Regions from separate parts of the Homo sapiens genome. Here region 1 is linked to region 2. Evidence: promoter capture Hi-C in human tissues and cell types (Jung and others, 2019). All regions are on one chromosome and are shown on one strand. Each heading gives the region's core, a stretch centred on a gene start or on the middle of the fragment in contact. The rest is flanking DNA. Distances are from core to core; before and after follow the strand shown.

What was found. The method cuts DNA at HindIII sites, captures the fragments that hold promoters and counts their contacts. A contact is called where the count stands out against the background at its distance.
Region 1: a contact is called between a fragment that was not itself captured here and the fragment with the promoter of LYZL1 in region 2, in 2 of the 25 tissues and cell types used here (IMR-90 fibroblasts and dorsolateral prefrontal cortex).

The regions. Positions count from the first base shown.
Region 1 is chr10:28,753,586-28,761,132 of GRCh38, forward strand. The region is part of intron 2 of LINC01517 (long intergenic non-protein coding RNA 1517); the gene reads left to right. It also overlaps the pseudogene RNU6-270P. Among named protein-coding and RNA genes, the nearest start is that of LINC01517, 14 kb to the left of the region's middle. The HindIII fragment of the contact is 7,130 bases long and covers 1-6,992 here.
Region 2 is chr10:29,284,985-29,292,361 of GRCh38, forward strand. It overlaps LYZL1 (lysozyme like 1), which reads left to right and starts at 4,086. Exons shown (of 5, transcript NM_032517.6): 1 at 4,086-4,246; 2 at 6,859-7,022. The coding sequence starts at 6,884. RefSeq lists a silencer at 651-720 and an enhancer at 831-920. The HindIII fragment of the contact is 13,518 bases long and covers 1-6,502 here.

The DNA.
Region 1 (7,547 bases), core at 2,178-4,677, 530 kb before region 2:
CAGGAAAGTGGTGGGAAAATATATATATATATATATATATATATATATATATATATATATACACATGCATACATACATAAATATATATGTGTGCATATGCATGTCTGGAAAATGTTTCCTATGGCTTAAAAGTCAGAGTTATGATTTCATCTTATTAGCAACTATTTATCCCCATAAGTGTTGAGAGATGAACATGGAATCCTAGAACAGTGGCTGGAAGAGTGACCAGGCCAGTTTTTCCTATGCCTGTCTGGCCTTAGCTGTGGCTAGGTTCCCTGCACACTTCCCAACACACTGAGCAAGTACCTTCGTGTGTGATGCACCACTCTAGATGCGCAGACTCGGTTGATGATCTGAGGCTGTGAGCAGAAAAGAGCAAGAGAAATAAAGTCCTAGTTCAGTTGTGGGTGGAGACAAAATATCCACAGAAAAGGAAAAAGCAACTTCCTCAATTGCCAAATGATGTGTAGGTAATATTCTAATATTCTACTATGATGATAAAAACCATTACAAACATGTATTTTTTGAAAATAAGTTCCAAATGACATCCTGTGTTTTGTTTTTTTTTTTTTTTTTGAGACAGGGTCTCACTCTGTCATCCAGGCTGGAGCACAGTGGTGTGATCATGGTTCACTGCAGCTCCTGTGAACCTGCATACCTTCTGGGCTCATGCAACCCTCAGGCCTTACTTAGCCTCTTGAGTAGTGGGACTATAGGCACATGCCACCATGCCCAGCTGATTTTTAATTTTTTTGTAGAGATGGGGTTTTTCCATGTTTCCTAGGCTGGGACATCCTTTTAAAATAGCAGACTTATTACAGCAAAATAACAGTTGTACAGTTTTTCTCTCTTTTTCTGTAAAGGGGAATTTTTTTTAAGAGATGAGGTCTTGTTATGTTGCTCAGGCTGGCCTTGAACTCTGGGGCTCAAGCAATCCTCCTGCCTCAGCCTCCTGAGTAGCTGAGACTACAGGAGCACAGCACTGCATCTGGCTTGTAAAGGGGATTTGACAGTGCCAGCTGTATACCATGTTCAACAACATCTTGCTGTTGAAGGGAGGTGGAGTAATGGTGTGATGGGAGGCAACCTAACTAGGTACAGTTAATGAATGGAAGTCCTGGCGGCAGAATGAGCACCTTACACGTAGAGTGACAGCAACAGGGAAGCTTGGGTCTGGGGGAGGGGATATAGCTGGTGAAGGGCAGGGAAGGAGGGAGAAGATGGACAGCCTTGAATGTAACCCCAAGGGGACTTTCCAATAAACGTTAATAAAGTAGAAATGGAAAGGGAACAGCTGAGGAGTTGGAATGATGGCAGAAGAAGTTGTAGTTTGTTGTTCAGGCAGATGATGTGATGGAATTGGAGTTTGAGAAGGCTTAGTAGAGTTTATATTTCTATCATATAAAATGTTCAAAGGTTGGGAAATCAATGATTTACTCATCATCACACTGGGACTGCTGATAGACTAGTATCTTAGCCTGGGTTCTCTGGAAAGCTGATACAGCCACATAGTTAAAGCTTGAGGTCATACTTCACATGCTTTATTTTAGCATATGACCTAGGAGCAGGAGTGAAGGATGGGAGTGAAGCAAGGAAGGAAAGAGAGTCGATTACAGAGCTGTTTCGTTGAGCTGGTCACAGCTCCTGTGTCCAATCTCGTGGGGCTGCCTGAGATGTCTTGAAGTCATAAGCCCAGAGAAAGAACAGAGGGGATGCCTTTATCCACTGGATCCATTTTTCCAATGATCAAAGGTTTGTCCTATAGAGTATTAATGATTAAAATATTAAAACCCTATGGAGATTATTAGAAAGATGATAATTTAGTAGTTATCATCATCTGGGAACACCAAGCTGGTTCCCATGTGTCAACTACCCTACCAGGGCTGGCAGTGGGGGCCCTGGTCTGGGTGCTGTTAGGTTGCACCTGTTGATCAGATCCTACACAGTACTAGTCCCAACAGCAATAGATGCAAAGAGAAACAGGTGAGGCTGAGCAGGTGTGGAGTGGTGCCCAAGGGGCATCTTGACCTAGCCAAGGTATCTGGTACAAGTAATAACTTCAGGAAACCTCTTTTCTTGGAAATATTACTGATATTACTGATGGAATATTATCCCCATCAATATTATTATATAATATCATTTTATAAATTCATAAATTATTTTTAATAATAAATTATAAATACAAATTTATATTTATAAATGATAAAATTCGATACAAATTATTTTATAAATTTTATAAATTATATTATATATTTTATAAATTTATACATTTTATATTTTATAAATTTATAAAATATTTTATTACTATATTATTATATCTATATTATTATAATAAATATTATTCCCATTTCTAATAATGTTAGAAATTCCTACATTTCCAATAATGTTAGAAATATTATTGATGGGAATCTGGCCTGTGGGTTTCCCCCAAGTCTGTTGGTAATACTTGTAGTCTACTAGAAAGTATTTCCTGAAATGGAGGGCTATTGTCTGTCATGGGCCATACGTTGAAGTAGACTTTGTCCAGCACGATGAGGGACTTTTTGGTTTGTCACAGGGCTGGAGTGCAGCTGAGGTCTGGCTTTAGCCAAGGAGAGCACCTTGAAACCTGGCAGAGAATTACAGTGAACCAGAAGACTAAGTGAAGCATGAACTGGCATAATGTGAGAATCATCGCAGATTCCTATATCCCTCTTTTAGGTTCTTTGGTTGGGGGGCGCCTGGTTCTTAATAAAAAGTCCCTCTGTTGAACCACATGAGAAAAATGGACCCAGAGAAACAAGAGTTCAACAACGAGAAGGAGTTTTGCTCTTTCACCCAGGCTGGAATGCAGTGGCATGATCTCAGCTCACTGTTACCTCTGCTTTCCGGTTTCAAGCGATTCTCCTGGCTCAGCCTCCTGAGTAGCTGGGATTACAGGTGCCCACCACCACGCCCAGTTAATTTTTGTATTTTTAGTAGAGTTGGGGTTTCACCATATTGGCCAGGCTGGTCTCGAACCCCTGACCTCGTGATCCTCCCACCTCGGCCTCCCAAAGTGCTGGGATTACAGGCATGAGCCACTGTGCCTGGCCCATCCTCAGTATTTTTTATTCATCCTTGCCTCCATGTGCACTGACACAGATCAAACTAGGTTAAAATAAACACTTAGGGGTGGAAAGGAAGATAGCAGACAAGGGCAGAAATGAGTGAGTGCCTTATGATTCATATTTGCAAACCATCTGATTCTGCTACCACCTTCTTCCGTTCTGCCTGCACCTCAGCATTCTTGAGACAATAGATAGAAGCAAATGACTTGTTCCTAGGCAACTTGGAAGTTCTGCCCCAGAGGCTGCAGAAAACCCTCCTGTGTCCCTGAGTTGGCTCTGTCCTTAAATTTTGCAGCAGGAGAATTATTGAGCTGTTCTTGGGATGATTTTTAGCCTATGTATGTCTACACTTAGGAGGCTGACATCTTATAAATGCATATGGTTTTGTTCAAATGAATACGTAGTTGACAAATACTTGGCTAGAAGTTATAATGACAAATTTAATAGCCCTACTATAGCCTGAACTGTCATCTTTATTTGGGTTAAGCTTGCTAAATGTCAACTGGAATTTTGTACTATAATAACCTGCAACTTGGTTCCAAAATCAGCCATGTTTTTGACAAATGTAAGTAAATTCAGCTGTCTAAAGGGGCTCATGTGCTATGGAGTGATTAAGGAGTGGTCTTTCATTATGATTATTTAACCCCACGTCTGATAACAGTGTCCTGCTTTTTTGTTTCTGTAGATGCTTTCCTGGCTGAAAACCATGAATGACCCAGAATAGTTCATATCTTTGGAAGATCCTTATTTTCCTTGTAAATGAAAGTCATGCATTTGGAATAATAACATGAAATGATGTGAATGGTAGGGACTCAAAAACTTTCTCTTCCAAAAATATTCTACAGATTCATGCTCAGGAAAGCCAAATGCTCTACAATAGGATGAAGTGGCTCCAGGAGAGTTCTGTTTACTACTTTAATAAGTGACTAAATATATGGTATTTACGCATATGAAATTGGCTTAACTAGGACATCTCATTTCCTAGCCTTTGCATATAAAAGAGAATTGACAGTAATTCAGGTTAACTCAAAATGTATCATTTAATTGTCTTTGTCCCACATGACTAGTAAGTAGGTCACTAGCCACTTTTTTTTTTTTTGAGACAGAGTCTTGCTGTGTTGCCCAGGCTGGAGTGCAGTGGCATGATCTTGGCTCACTGCAACTTCCAACTCCTAGATTCAAGCGATTCTTCTGCCTCAGCCTCCTGAGTAGCTGGGTTTACAGTCATGCGCCACCATGCCAGGCTAATTTTTTGTATTTTTAGGAGAGACAGGGTTTCGCCATGTTTGGCAGGCTAGTCTCGAACCCCTGACCTCAGAGATCCACCCATCTCAGCCTCCAGAAGTGCTGGGATTACAGGCATGAGCCACCGCGCCCGGCCACCAGCCACTTCTAACCCTACTCTCTCTCGGAAGTTTTGAGTTGTATGCACACTCAGACCTCTTTGCTTTCCCAGTGTATCAGTTTTGACCTAATCCTTTTTCTATGTATTTAACTCTTGCTATAGTTCCTTTGGATCGTATAGTAAGATTGCCAAGTGAAAAACTCCTGATGTGTGTTCAAGTCATAGACTCCATTTCTAAATCTCCAAATTCATATGTTTCATTTCTTATCACCTTCTCCTTCCTCCTTCTGTCTCTACTTCTGTTATTCTGTTCCTGCTTATCCCATTGGTCCTGTCTTAAGTTATCCCTTGGATTAAAAATAATAATAATAAAACTTTTTATTATAGAAAATCTCAAATATGTACCAAAGCCTTTAATCATGTAATGTGCCCTCATGTATTTATCACTTAATTTCTACAATTATTAATTCATGGCCAATCTTATTTCTGCAATACTCCAGCCCTCAAGCAGTACTGGGTATAATGGAAAATACCGATACATTGAACATGAAAATCAAGAACTCCTATTTATCAAAGTATATTAGAAAGGGCACAAAAAGCAAATGACTCATTCTGGAAAATATAAAGGGCTCGTATTTATCACTAAGAAAAAAACCAAACAATCCAGTAGAAGAAAAATGGTAAGGGACTTGAACAGGCACTTCATAAAAGAAGATATCCAAGTAGTTAACATACTTACATAAAGGTGCTCTTCTATTACTTATCCAAGAATTGCTAATAGCCACATCCACTAGAATGGCTAACATTAAAAAGCCTGGCAATGCCAAATTCTGACAAGGATATGAAGGAACTCAAATTCTCATTCATCATTTGTTGTAGTATAAATTGGCATAATCGGCTGGTTGCTGTGGGTCATGCCTGTAATCCCAGCACTTTGGGAGGCTGAGGTGGGAGGATCACTTGAGTTCAGGAGTTTGAATCCATCCTGGACAACATGGCAAAACCTTGTCTCTATGAAAATACAAAAAATTACCTGGGAATGGTGGTGTGTGCCTGGAGTCTCAGCTACTTGGGGGGCTGAGGTGGGAGGATCACTTGTGCTTGGGAGGTTGAGGCTGCAGTGAGTTGAGATCGCACCACTGTGTTCCAGCCTGAGTGATAAAGTGAGACCCTGTCTCAACAAAAAAACAAAACAAACCCATAAATTCAATTCTGGCTATATACAATAATGAATAAATTTTACAATGCTTAGGTTTTTTTTAAAGCAAGGCAACAGCAGCTGGGCGCTGTGGCTCATGCCTGTAATCCAGTACTTTGGGAGGCTGAGGCAGTTGGATCACCTGAGGTCAGGAGTTTGAGATCAGTCTGGCCAACATGGCGAAACCCCATTTCTACTAAAAATACAAAAATTAGTTGGGCGTGGTAGTGGGCCCCTGTAATCCCAGCTAGTCGGGAGGCTGAGGCAGGAGAATCACCGGAACCTGGGAGGTGGAGGTTGCAGTGAGCTGAGATCGCGCCATTGCACTCCAGCCCAGACGACAAGAGCAAAACTCCGTCTCAGAATAAATAAATAAATAAAAATTAATACATTAAAAAAAAGCAAGACAACAAAGCATATATACAAATTACTTCATGGAAAATGGCAGAGCAGGATACTCAAATAATCAATTTCTCATGTCTGTAATCCCAGCACTTTGAGAGGCCGAGGCGGGTGGATCACCTGAGGTCAGGAGTTCATGACCAGCCTGGGCAATATGGTGAAACCTCGTCTCTACCAAAATTACAAAAATTAGCCGGACATGGTGGTGGGCGCCTGTAATCCCAGCTACCTGGGAAGCTGAGGCAAGGGAATCACTTGAACCCAGGAGGCAGAGGTTGCAGTGAGCCGAGATCATGCCACTGCACTCCAGCCTCGGTGCCAGAGCCAGACTCCATCTCAAAAAAAAAAAAGAAAGGGAGAAAAATAGAGTATAGCTTCGAGCTGTCTATTTTACTACACGTTTTTCTTATTTGAAGAAGCATTGAGTTGAACTTGCTGTAGTTACTGCAAACTCGCTACCAGGTGAAGGTTCTGACTGGGTCTTTTCCAGGCCATGGAAATAGCACAAGGGGATAATTTCAATGAATCTGATTACTACAAATTAATGTTTTGGTTTCTTGATGATTGAAGTCTGTTGAAGAATAGGGGCTTTCCATTTGGGTGGGATCATTTGAATTACAGATTGATATGTTGAGTAGATTTATTTTTAGTTTTCATTGTAGAGAGACACAGCATAGCAACATGAATGCCATGTAGACCTCCAGGAACACAAGTGGAATTGAACAAACTGGTGTTATTCACTGTGATGAGAGAGAACACACACAATTGGAAACTGTGGAGTGTCTCTGTAGGAGAGTGTCAAAAAGGACTTACAGGATTTAAGCTGTGTGTGGTGATTTGGGAAAGGATTCAAGGAAGCGGGACTTTGGTCTGAATTGGATGCTGTCAGGAAGTGGAATTAATTCTATAATTGGGCATCTTATCTAGAAAGTGAGAGGAAGGAAGCCAGGTTAGAGCTTTAATTGCTAAATCAGCAGTCACTCGTATTAGCTAGGATGGGTGGGGAGTTGGTATTCTGTGGCTTGGACAATGTTTATATTTTGTCTGTGTTCACACATGATATGGAATAATATTATTTTTTTAAAAAGAAACGTTTCATGAATTTGTGTCATCCTTGCACAGAGGCCATGCTAACCTTCTCTGTATCATTCCAATTTTAGTATATGTATTGCTGAAGCGAGCACGGAGTGATCTTATTTTTGTCAGGAACTCTCATGGTCACAAAGTGGCCTTGTCTGATGCTGATGTTTTGTGCAGTTGTTTATGTTCAACTGGACAACATCAAGACCTAATTGTGAAGACCAGAACAGCTTTTAACAATGCCGTTGTGCATTGCTGATTGTACCAGGACAGCTCCTGGTTGCCAGTACTGGTTTTCTCTTTCTCAGCTACCTATAGCTATAAGGAGAGCCCTCAAAATGAGGGCACATGTTAGGACTAGATTTTGTCACATTAAGCAAACCAACATCCCAAAATAACAGTGGCTCAAACAATAAAGATGTTTCTCTCTCTT
Region 2 (7,377 bases), core at 2,836-5,335:
TTCCTCACCAGAAAGTCGCCATTTTCCCCTTTCTGCATTCTATCTGTGGGAAGCAAGTCAGTCAGTCGAGCCCCTACTCAAAGGGAGGAGAATTAAGCTCCATTTCCTGGAGGGGGATTTTCTACATAGATTACTTAGAATTCTTCTGAGAGACAGACTTGTTTCTTGTCCTCAGATATTTATTTATTCAATCATTTATTTATATCAGTATGTCCTCATATATATTTATTTTATTCTGTGTGTTAGAATCCAGTACTATCGTTGTTTATTTTGTTGTGCGATTGTCTCAGTTTAGGCCATCGGGGGGTTTTCTCAGTTTGGTTCCTGTGTCTCTTCGACATGTGCCTCCCCCACCCTCAGCATTTCCTTATTCTTTGGCACCAACAAGATACCCCAAGCTCATTTTGCATTTTCCCTGACTCAGTTCTGCAATCAGCTTCTTTTCTAAGGAGTCCTGGTTTCTTTTACTGGAGAATAAAATGGTATTAGAAGCAAGTCTGTGTATTGAGAATGCCCATAGCTACTGGAGTGCCACTGTTTCTAGGTAGATGGACAGATTTATATTAATGTCTCCAACTCTAATCCAGTGTCACAGAGTTCAATTCTAGTCTTTCTCTTTTGCTTGTTTTTAACTTCTCTCTCTGACAGTGTGAAATCTGGCTCCCATCATCTGCAATGTTTTTCTTCATTTGCTTAATGCTAGTTTACATGTAGTTTCAGAATTGCTAACTCTTACCCCAGGGAGAAGGGAATTCACCAACTGAAGTACAGTGTTTATGTACAGATTGTTTTGTCTTTAGACTTTAGATATTCAGTCAAAACACTGTTTTCTAAAGTTACCTGGATCCGCATCTCTTTTCCCACGCCTTCAGTGAGGTTATGTTATACGTTTGTAATACAGTTAGGTCTTTTTCTCACAGACTAAATTCTATCCTGGTATTCCCCAACATCCTGGATGATTTTTTTAAAGTTTGCATACAATGAAGTTCCCCCTTTGTGGTGTACGGGTCTACAGATTTTGACAAATTCATGAAGCCATGTTTCTACTACCCCAGTATCATAGAGAACAGTTCCAATGACCTAAAATAAAATAGAATGTGTGTGGTTCCTTTGTAGTCAATTTCTCCTCTAACCCTTGACAATCACTGAACTGTTTTCCATCCCTATAAATTTTGCCTTTTCCATAATGTCGTATATATGGAATTATATATAATACGTATATATAATAGTAATCTTTTGGGTCTGCCTTCTTTTATTTAGCAAAATGCATTTAAGATTCATCCTCATTGTTGCGGGAATCAAATAGCTCATTCCTTTCATTGCTGAGTAGTATTCCATTGTATGGATAGATCATAGTTTTTGAATATATTTGCCTGCTGAAGGTCATCTTTGTTGCTTCCAGTTTTCATTGATTATGAATAAAGCTGCTATAAACATGGGTTAGCTTGTTTTTGTGTGAATGTAAGTTTTTTATTCACTTGAATAAATACATAGGAGTATAATTGTCGGTTTATGTGATAAGTCCATGTTTAATTTTATGAGAAACTGACTAACTGTTTTCCAAAGTGACTGTACCATTTGTATTTCCACCAGTGATAAATTGGAGTTCTTACAGTTCTGTGTCTTCATCATTTGGTTTCATCTAATTGATTTTAGCAATTCTAATTAGTGAGAAGTGATATCTAATTGTGGTTTTATTTACTCTTTCCTGGTGACAATGATATTGATCATCTTTTCATATGCTTGTCATTTGTATATCTTCTTTGAAATGTCTGCTTAAATCATTTGCCCTTTTTTTAATTGGGTTATATGCTTGCTTATAGTTGAATTCTAAGAGTCCTTTATATATTCTGAATACAAGGCTTTCATCTCATCAGACATTGATTTGTAAATATTTCTTCCAATCTGTAGCTAATCTTTTCATTCCCTTAACAGTGTCTTTCAAAGAGCAAAAGTTTTAAATTTTGATCAAATCCAACTAATCAGTTTTTTTTTCTTCCTTTCATGGATTGTGCTTTTGATGTTATATCTAAAATTTCATTGCCAAACCCAAGGTCCTGCAGATTTTTTATATTTAACTTAAAGAATTTCATCGTTTCACACTTTTTACATTTAGGCTTTTGATCCATCTTGAATTAATTTTTGTATGAGATATAAGGTATGTATTCTTCAATATGCCTTATGCCTTGTTTTATTTTTGTTGTTTTCGTTGTTTTGCACATAGACAGTCTTATTTTAGTACCATGTGTTAAATGGAACATCATCTTTCCATTGAATTTAATTTGCATCTTTATAAAAAGCTACTTGACTACATATGTGTAACACTATTTCTAGGCTCTCTATTTTGTTACACTGTCCTATGTGTCTGTTTCCACAAATATCATCCTGTCTTGATTACTACAGCTTTATATTAAGTTCTAAAATCAAGCAATATGAGTCCTTCAATTTTATTATTCTTCTGAATAGTTTTGCCTACTCTAGTCCCTTTGCCTTTTCATATAAGTTTTAGGACCCTCTTATTGATATTTTCTAAACAATTTTTCTGGGAGTTTAAATGGGATTCCACTAAATCTATGTATTAAATCTTAATAATATTGACTCTTCAAATTCATGAATATGGTGTGTCTTTTTCATTTACTCAGGTCTTCTTTAATTTTCCGTCTGTCTTATAGTTGTCAGTATATATATCCTGCACATATTTTGTTAGGTTTAAATTTAAGTACTTCATTTGCATTTGTGTACTATTGTAAATGGATTTTTTTTTATTTCAAACTCTTATTTTCTATTCCTAGTATATAAGATTGTAAATGGCTTTTGTATATTTACGTCATATCTGAAAACTTGCTAAGCAAGCATTTTTGAAAAAGAAAAAGACAATCCGTCTCTATTTTCTCACTGGTAAGATCCCTATTTCAAAGCATTTTGAAAAAGATGTTTGAGGGAAAAACCTATACATTTTCTCATATTATAGACTGTTCACAAGAAGTCCACTAATGGCTTCTAAAGATAAAAAAGACCCTCAAGCAGCTTGAAATAACGAAAGTTGAAATTGAAACTCTGCTGAAAAATTATGTTTCATCTCTAATATTGAGAAATATTGAAACATTTGATAACACAGTGTGCTATCTTCCTGATACAAGCCCATGTGAAAGGCAATTTGGCAAATATCTAGCAAAATTACAAAATTATACCCTTTGATCCAGCAAGATATTCTTGTAAAGTTACAAATGACATATGTACAAAATTACTGGTTGTAATATGTTTACAATAGAAGAATAAAATAAGTGTGCATCAATATGAAATTGGCTAAGTATGCTATGTTGTATCTGTATAATGCAATACTATATGAACTTCAAAATAGATTTCAACAAAACCTTTGCATTATTGGCAGATGGAATTTAAGAAAATATAACGATTAGTTAGGTGCAGCCAACAATAAACTTCTACTTAGATCTACATATTCTAATGAGAATTCATTTCAAATGTGTCACTAAATCTGAACATTGAAATAAATAGACCTTGAAAACAGCCCTTTAGTTATTGATTCACAAAGTGTTAAGCCAAATTTTTCAAAAATAATAAAATCATGTTATTACAAAAATATTTTATTAATAATAATTTGACTATAGCAAATGTGCTGTTAATAAATTTTTAATGTTAATTTCACCTCTATGTCATTAATTTTCAAATTTTAGTTTTATGTATGTTGATAATTTATGTAGCATATTAGTACTGAGGTACAGAAGTATGATTTATAACTCAATGTACATCTAAAGAGGATACATGCTTAACTTTCTTTATTAATGGAATTTGTGATAAAGTTTGCAGACGCCTCAGAGAAGAGCTCTCACTTGGACAGGAGGCCCTGGCCAAGTTGTGTAATGAGGAGGGTTGTTGAGGGGAAAAGACAAAAAACAAGAGGTATTAAGCCCCAGAAGACAGTTATCACCTGCCTCAGAACACAAGCATGCAGGATGATACAGCTTTTAGTGCCAAGAAGTAGAATTCTAGCATCTCTAGGTGGTGAGAAACAAAGGATTAAGAATTTTTCTTTCTCTAACACTCTAAAGAAATGTTCTTGAGCTAGGAAAGGATTACTCGCGCCTCGTTAGAATCAGACATGGCTTCAGGGGATGCAGGACGCTCCCCTGAGCTGCCTGTCACCGACTAAGTGGAGCAGTGTTTCTTCCGCAGACTCAACTGAGAAGTCAGCCTCTGGGGCAGGCACCAGGAATCTGCCTTTTCAGTAAGACCTAAATTACTCTTATGAGAACCAGCAATGGCAGGTTCTTGAAGGATGTAGAACATGATGCTTGGGGTTATCATTGCTGCGGGTTTTCTTTGGACTTGTTTGAGATCAGTAAAATTCTAAGGCAGGGGATGGAAACCAACTCTATTTGTAAGCTCTGTATCTTTTTTTCTTTTTTCTTTTCTTTTTTTTTTTTTTTTTTAGACAGGGTCTCTCACTCTGCTGCCCAGGCTGGAGTGCAGTGTCACAATCATGGCTCACTATGGCCTCAAACTCCCAGCCTCAAGTGATCCTCCCACCTCAGCCTCCCCAGTAGCTGGGACCACAGGCACACACCACCATGCCTGGCTAATTTTTGTATATTTTGTAGAGGCAGGGTCTACCTTTGCTGCCCAGGCTAGTCTCAAACTCCTGGCTTCAAGCAATCTGCTCACCTCAGCCTCCCAAAGTGCTTGGATTACAGGTATCACCCACCATGCCTGGCCTTAGCTCTGCATCTTAAACCTCGTTTGTCTGTCCCTCACAGCTTAACACAGTGCTGTACACAGCGGACTGGCATGCTCTCTCTGAAAAGGGCCAGATAATAATATGTTAGGCTTTGTGGTCTATACGGCCTCAAACACAATTACTGAACTCTGCCACTGTAGTTGGAAATCAGCCACCAATGATATATTACCAAATGGGTGTAGCTATGTTTCAATAAAACTTTACATACAAAAGCGGGCCTGGTTTGCCCACGCTTGCTATTCACGTTTGTAATGTACATGCCCCTCATGCAATGCAGTTCCTTACCTTATTGCTTAGTCACCTTAAAGCCCTGCTTGTTACTTGGTGCGGTGGCCTTGCTGATGACTACTTATCCCTGTTTTGGGCCTAGCCTTTCAATGCAGGAATCCAGCCCCAGGGAGAGAAACTAATGACTGGAGAAGTTTCTAGGCAAGTGCAGAAAATGACACGGGATGAACATATGTAAGAACATCAAGTTCAGGATCCCGAGTAGTTGTCAGAAATTTCACTTCACCCCATCCCAGCAAGGCTGTTGTATTTGGGGAAGACATTATTTCAAGAGGGGAAGAGATTGTGGAAAATCAGTAGGCAGCAGGAGACAGCTCTCTTGATCCTACTCCCATTTCAGATGATTCCGCAGGGGTCTCTTTATTGCCCCTCTGCTCCCCCAGGTGCTTTCCTCCTTTCATGAGGCTTTGTCCTCCATCCCTCTTGCTCCCCAGTCAGGTGCCAGACTTTTAGGAGGCCCCCCGGAGCACTGGTGGTGAAGCTTAGCAAAGCAATGCATTTGCAATCTAAGATAAAACACTCATGTTTTGGGCTGGGCATGGTGGCTCACACCTGTTATCCCAGCACTTTGGGAGGCCGAGGTGGGCAGATCACAAGGTCAGGAGTTTGAAATGAGCCTGACCAACAGTGTGAAACCTCATCTATACTAGAAACACAAAAATTAGCCAGGTGTGGTGGTGGGCGCCTGTAATCCCAGCTACTCAGGAGGCTGAGGCAGGAGAATCGCTTGAACCTGGGAGGCAGAGTTTGGAGTGAGCCCAGATGGCGCCACTGCACTCCAGCCTGGACAACAGAGTGAGATTCCATCTCAAAAAATAAATAAATAAATAAAAGCACTGATACTTTGGAAGCAAAGCTCCCACATTTGGAACTGAATCAAGAAAAGAAAATGAAAGAGTAGGTGCTTAATCTTCACTCTTCGATAAACCCCCAAACAATAACCCTTAAAGTTTTCCATACAGGCCCACGTGTCTTTCATCTGTGGCTGAAATGGGCTGTCTGTTTCTACACATCCAGTTGATCCTTGAACAAATGTAGGGGTCACGGGCACCGACGCCTGCTCAGTTGAAAATCTGCATGTAACTTTTGACTCCCCAGAAACTTAACGACTCCATAGCCTACTGCTGACTGGAAGCCTTACTGATAACATAAATAGCCAATAAACACATATTTTTTATGTTCTATGTCTTCTGTACTGGATTCTTACAATAAAGTAAGCTAGAGAAATGAAATGTTATTCAGAAAAGAATAAGGAAGAGAAGATACATTTACTATTTGTTAAGTGGAAGTGGATCATCATAAAGGGCTTCATCCTGGTTGTCTTCACACTGAGCAGGCTGAGGTGGAGGAGGAAGAGGAGGGGTTGGTCTTGCTGTCTCGGGGTGGCAGAGGCAGAAGAAAATTCACGGATAAATGGACCCACGCAGTTCAAACCCATGTTGTTCAAGGGTCAGCAGTATAGGGAATGTTTCACCCCTGTATTCTATTTTTCATTCATAGAATTAAAATAGAAATCCTAAAAATGCCCCCTGTGGTTTTCACCTGGATGTGTATTAAGGAGGGTTAATTTTTTTGCTTGCTTAACCCTGAGAACACAGCATTGACTTGAAAGTTACTGTATGGAAAAGCATTAAGGAAACAGCCTTCAGTTGCCTTCCTTCCCTGGACCGTAGAGTGGCCGGTTTTCCCTGATGGTGGCACTGAATGACCAAAGTGACAGGCAGCATCTAGGCAGGGCTGTGCACAGTCACCACCGCTGGATTTCAAAGTTCCTGAACCAAGATCGTCTGACCTGTTCTCCGGCTCTTTGGCAGGTTCTGTCTCCGGCAGGCTTTGAGGATGAAGGCTGCGGGCATTCTGACCCTCATTGGCTGCCTGGTCACAGGCGCCGAGTCCAAAATCTACACTCGTTGCAAACTGGCAAAAATATTCTCGAGGGCTGGCCTGGACAATTACTGGGGCTTCAGCCTTGGAAACTGTGAGACTCTTTCTTTCCTGCTCTCCTTCTGTCCTTGACCTTTCCCCTGAGATGTTGAAGGTCCTGGCCACACTCCCTGCTGTGTCTTCCCAACTACCCCTGCTCTGCCCTCACCGCACTCAGGGGTGGCTGCTAGCCTAACTGTGGCTCTCTGGGTCTCCTCTCCTTCCTCCCCTGCCCCTCATTTCCTTATTCCTGGAGTCCTGTCCTTATGACACTAGCCAGGGAAGGGGAAAATAATGCCACCTCTGCTGGCATTGTGGGGAGTGGGGGGACCTGACTGTTGGTCTAGATTAGGCTCAGCCCCTGACTGGGTGTACAGCTTCAGGTGTGCCATCCCAGCCCCCGATGTGCC